2 separate regions of the Homo sapiens genome follow, and region 1 is linked to region 2. The links are contacts of gene promoters, found by promoter capture Hi-C in blood cells and fetal thymus (Javierre and others, 2016). All regions are on one chromosome and are shown on one strand. Each heading gives the region's core, a stretch centred on a gene start or on the middle of the fragment in contact. The rest is flanking DNA. Distances are from core to core; before and after follow the strand shown.

Evidence for each region. Contacts are between HindIII fragments. The CHiCAGO score rates a contact against its expected background, and 5 or more counts as called.
Region 1: a fragment that was not itself captured here is called in contact with the fragment with the promoter of HOMER3 in region 2 in 2 of 17 cell types (erythroblasts and monocytes); the score reaches 5.7 in erythroblasts.

Annotation. Positions count from the first base shown.
Region 1 is chr19:18,641,492-18,644,191 of GRCh38, forward strand. The region is part of intron 1 of KLHL26 (kelch like family member 26); the gene reads left to right. Among named protein-coding and RNA genes, the nearest start is that of KLHL26, 5.8 kb to the left of the region's middle. The HindIII fragment of the contact is 3,768 bases long and covers 1-2,700 here.
Region 2 is chr19:18,939,802-18,942,543 of GRCh38, forward strand. It overlaps HOMER3 (homer scaffold protein 3), which reads right to left and starts at 1,416. Exons shown (of 10, transcript NM_004838.4): 1 at 1,250-1,416. It overlaps HOMER3-AS1 (HOMER3 antisense RNA 1), which reads left to right and starts at 453. Exons shown (of 3, transcript NR_134913.1): 1 at 453-823. RefSeq lists a silencer at 1,380-1,579. The HindIII fragment of the contact is 10,102 bases long and covers 1-2,742 here.

The DNA of each region.
Region 1 (2,700 bases), core at 8-2,507, 300 kb before region 2:
TATTTTTAGTGGAGACGGGGTTTCACCATGTTGGCTAGACTGGTCTCAAACTCCTGACCTCAGGTGATCTGCCTGCCTCAGGCTCCCAAAGTGCTGGGATTAGAGGCATGAGCCACCACACCCGGCTCTTTTTCTTTTTTCTTTTTTTTTTTTTTGAGATGGAGGCTTGCTCTGTTGCCCAGGCTAGAGTGCAGTGGCGTGATCTTGGCTCACTGCAACCTCTGCCTCCCAGGTTCAAGCAATTCTCCTGCCCCAGCCTCCCGAGTAGCTGGGATTACAGGCGTGTGCCACCACACCCGGCTAATTTTTGTATTTTTAGTAGAGACGGGGTTTCTCCATGTTGGTCAGGCTGGTCTCGATCTCTTGACCTTGTGATCTGCCCGCCTCAGCCTCCCAAAGTGCTGGGATTACGGCGTGAGCCACCATGCCCGGCCCTCTTTCTTAAAAGACATCTTTGTCATTCTCCCCTATCCTCCATCCTAGTGAAAAATCACTGTTTGGAGCAACTGATAGGGGCATCTCATGCCTCAGGTGCTAGTGTGGGGAGAACCCCTAATGTGGCAAGATGGAGCATGCAGAAAATGGATCATATTTTGAGGGAGATTGGTACAAGACATTCTCCCAAAAGTCATTTTGAGACATTGAGTCTTTGTAGCATTGTTCGTCTGTTCCTTCATTTATTGCAAATGGGACAGCCAGGCCTGGAGCACGACCCACCTCCTCGCCTCAACCTGCCCACGTCTCCTTCCTCTTCATCCTTCCACTCTCCAAGGTTCTGGCCCCTCAGAGCCACCTGCCTGACCATGCAAGCTCAAGTAGTCCCCAGGACACTTTTGCTAGTCACCTAGTGTGTGTGTGTGTGTGTGTGTGTGTGTGTGTGTGTGTGTGTGTTTGAGATGGAGTTTCGCTTTTGTTGCCCAGGCTGGAGTGCAGTGGCATGGTCACTGCAACCTCCACCTCCCGGGCTCAAGCAACTGATTCTCTTACCTCAGCCTCCCGAGTAGCTGGGATTACGGGCGCCTGCCACCAAGCCTGGCTAATTTTGTATTTTTAGTAGAGGTGGGGTTTCTCCATGTTGGCCAGGCTGGTCTGGAACTCCTGACCTCAGGTGATCTGCCTGCCTGGGCCTCCCAAAGTGCTGGGATTACAGGCGTGAGCCACTGCGCCCGGCTTGTGGTTTTTTGTTTGTTTGTTTGGTTTGGTTTGAGGAAGAGTCTCACTCTGTCGCCCATGCTGGCATGCAGTGTCGTAGCTACCTGCAGCCTTCTTGACCTCCTGGGCTCAAGCTATCCTTCTGCTTCAGCCTCCCGAGTAGCTGGGACTACAGGCATCTACTAACACACCTAATTTTTTTTTTTTTGAGACATTGTCTCATTCTGTCGCCCAGGCTAGAGTGCAGTGGCACAATCTGGACTCACTGCAACCTCCACCTCCTGGGTTTAAGCGATTCTCCTGCCTCAGCCTCCTGAGTAGCTGGGATTACCAGTGCACGCCACCACGCCCAAATAATTTTTGTATTTTTAATAGAGACGGGGTTTCACCATGTTGGCCAGGGTGGTCTTGATCTCCTGACCTCGTGATCCACCTGCCTTGGCCTCCCAAAGTGTTGGGATTACAGGCGTGAGCCACTGTGCCTAGCCCACACCTGACTAATTTTTAAAAATTGTTTTGGGCCGGGCGCGGTGGCTCATGCCTGTAATCCTAGGACTTTGGGAGGCCGAGGTGGGCAGATCACTTGAGGTCAGGAGTTTGAGACCAGCCTAGCCAACATGGTGAAACCGCTTCTCTACTAAAAATACAAAAATTAGCCAGGATTGGTGGCACGTGCCTGTAATCCCAGCTACTCGGGAGGCTGAGGCAAGAGAATCACTTGAACCCGGGAGGCAGAGGTTGCAGTGAGCTGAGATCGCTCCACTGCGCTCCCACCTGGGCGAGAGAACCAGACTGTCTTAAAAAATATATATATTATTTTATAGAGATGGGGTCTTATTATTATTTTTTTTTGAGATAGAGTTTTGCTCTTGTTGTCCAGGCTATAGTGCAATGGCATGATCTCGGTTCACCAAAACATCCGCCTCCTGGGTTCAAGCGATTCTCCTGCCTCAGCCTCCCGAGTAGCTGAGATTACAGACATGTGCCACCATGCCTGGCTAATTTTGTATTTTTAGTAGAGATGCGGTTTCTCCATCTTGGTCAGGCTGGTCTCGAACTCCTGACCTCAGGTTATCCGCCCACCTTGGCCTCCTAAAGTGCTGCGATTACAGGCATGAGCCACTGTGTCCGGCCAAGATGGGGTCTGATTATGTTGCCCAGGCTGGTCTTGAACTCCTGGGCTCAAGTGATCTTCCTGCCATAGCCTCCCGAAGTGCTGGGATTACAAGCATGAACCACTATGCCCAACCTGTATTTTTGTTTTTTGTTTTTGAGGTACTATATATGTAACACAAAATTCACCCACTTTAAGTGAACAATTCAGTGGCATTTAGTACATTCACAGAATTGTGCAACCATCACTGCTGTCCAGTTCCAAAACATCTTTGTCCCCGCAAAAGGTGACCCCATCTTCATTAGCACTAACCCCCTATTCTCCATTGCCCAGCCCCTGACAATCACCAATCTGCAGTCTGTCTCTATCCGTTTTCAAGTTTTATAGGTAGAATCATGCACTATGTGGCCTTTTGAGTCTGGCTTCTTTCACTC
Region 2 (2,742 bases), core at 166-2,665:
GCAGAGGGACCCCACCCCCAGCAGCTCCCACCCTAGGGCAGAAGCACACCTTGAAGTCCAGAGTCCAAATCCCCAGGGAGCCCCCAGCCAAGTTAAAAAGACAAGATGTAGACAAACAGCCAATCCCAATGCCCACCATGAGGGCAGAGCAGAATCCACACTGGGAGACCAGGGCTCCCCAACCTCCCCATTGGGCCATTCAGCAACCCCGAATCTGCAGGGGACCAAGGAGGAGTTTGGAGGAGGGGGAAGACAGGTGGGGGAGGGGAGGCCCTGGCCCAGCGGCCTCTGTGGTCAAAGGGGGGATGCCCCCCCTATCCTGTCCTGGGCAGCTGCTGTCCTGGTCACAGGGTCTGAAACCGGAGCCCCTGAGTGGGGGTGGGGCGGCAGCTCTGGCCTGGACTGGGGGCGGGTCCTGCGCCGGGTGGGAGTTGGGGAACACAGGGGTCCCCGGAACCCAGGCCCTTCCGGTCCGGCAGCTCCTGCTGCGACTTGCAGCGTTTGGGGAAAGTTACTCACCAACTAGTCATGCGCCTCGGATGCCGCCGGCCACGGGGCTCCCGGAGGGGGGTCCGACACCGCCCGGTGCCCGGGATCCCCAATCTGGCCGGTGGATGAGGCCCCATCCCATGCACCCGAGTGCGGGGGACGGGGGGGTTAATATTAATTCAGGATCCCATCCCCACCCGAGGCAGGACACCCAGTGCACGCCCCAACTCCGGGACGCGGGCTCTGACCCTGGAACTTCCGAGATTCCCGCGACGCCCCCTGTCTCTGGGTCCAGAACTTCGGGGGACACCTCTTCTGCCTCCTCCAACCCCAGGTCGGTAACTCCGGGGACTCCCTTCGTGACTCCTCCTCTAACTGGGTCCGGGACCCCGGTCCTCCGCGTTGTCCTAGACTCCTAAACTTCGAGGACCCCCTGCCACCCCTCCAGTCCCTGGGTCCGGGACGTCCGGACCCCTCCCACCCCAGTACCCCACCCCAGGTCCGCAGCTTTGGGGACCTCTTCGCAGCCTCCTCCAACGCCGGGTCCAGAACTTTGGGAACCTCCCACGCAGTCCCCTCTCAGACCCTGAATCCAGAACTTCGGGACCCCCGCGCTCCCTCCAGCCCTGGAACTTGGGGACCCCTCGCGCCGCTCCCAGTCCCGGGTCCGAAACTTCTGGGGAACCCCCACGCCCTCCCCTTGGCCCTGGGACTTCGAGGCCCCCGCGCTCCCAGCGCAGGCTCGGCAGGCCGGGCTCACCCTGCCAGGTCGGCGCCCCGCGAGTGTCCAGGCGCGAGTCGGGTGCGGCCCCCGCGGCGCTGACTCCGCGCTGCCGGGCGCCCCGCTCGCTCCCTGGCTCCCGGGCCCGCGCCCTCCGCGCCGCCCTCCACGCCGCCCGTGCCTTTGTCTGCGCCGCCGCCGCCCGCGCCGCCTCCGGTCCCATCGCGGCCGGTCCCGACGCGGCCGCCGCCCGCCCCGCCTCCCCGGGCCGCCAAGGCCGCCCCGCTGCGCCCCCTGCCGGCTTTTTGCACTGGGAGAGGGTATGGGGGAGGGGATAAGGGGGAGGGGCGGGGGCCGGGACTGGGGAAGGGACGGAGGATTGAGGGAGGGGGTTAGGGGCGGTGGAGGGGGAGTGGGGGGGGGGGTTGCGTGGGGTCGGGTTGGGAGCAGAGGGTGGGGACAGAGAGACAGACGGAGAGGGACATCTGGGATGAGAAAGAGACCCAGAAACAGAGACACGGGGGAGACAGGCGGAGAGATAGGAAGCAGATGGAGAGAGTTGCACGGACAGCGATGTGACCTCACCCTCCTGTCACCTTCTCAGGAGACAGCTGCCTCTGTCCCCACTACCTGAGGTCATAACTTTGGGCCTGTGAGGGAGGTCAGGTCCCTCCCGGGCTGACATGGGTGGCCCAGTGAGGTTGGGGAGGGGGCAGTGGGTCTCAGGGTCTGCATACAGTAAGTGCTCAATGGGTGTTGCCAGGAAACGGAAGAGATCAACTTCGGGAGGGAACGGGAAGCAAGACAAAGAGAGAGAAGCCTCTGTTCCCCTGCCCGTCCCATCCCTAAGCAGGGACGTCTGTCCACCTCTGTCCCTCCCAAGACGATGGTAAAAATGCCCACAATGGTTGGATTAAGGTTATCTTTGCTGTTGTTTGAGGGTTCCAAAATCCAAAGGCTGAGGAAATGTCTCCAACGCATGGTTGCATCCCCTCAGCCTCCACTGGCCTGCGTTTGTCACCTCTGGTCACAGGGAGCACCCCCTTCCCACACTTGCCAGGAGAGCATCCTTCCGGAGTTGAACTAGGATCCACCTCCCCAGCCCCAAGCCCATGTGTCCCACTTGTCAATCCTGGTGCCGCCCCCTCTCTGGCACCGTCTCCAAAATCACACGGTGCGGCGCCGTTGGTTCGTTTGTGGACAGAGGTCCTGCAGCTCCCTGGAACCAAGGCCTGTGGCGCCCTAAAGCTCTGATCTTACATTTGAGTTTTTCTTTTCTTTTCTTTTCTTTTTTTTGAGACAAAGTCTCACTCTGTTGCCCAGGCTGGAGTGCAGTGGCACAATCTCGGCTTACTGCAGCCTCTGCCTCCCAGATTCAAGCAATTCTCCTGCCTCAGCCTCCCGAGTAGTTGGGACTACAGGTGCATGCCACCACACCTGGCTGATTTTTGTATTTTTAGTAGAGATGGGGTTTCACCATGTTGGCCAGTCTGGTCTCGAACTCCTGACCTCAAGTGATCTGCCCCCCTCGG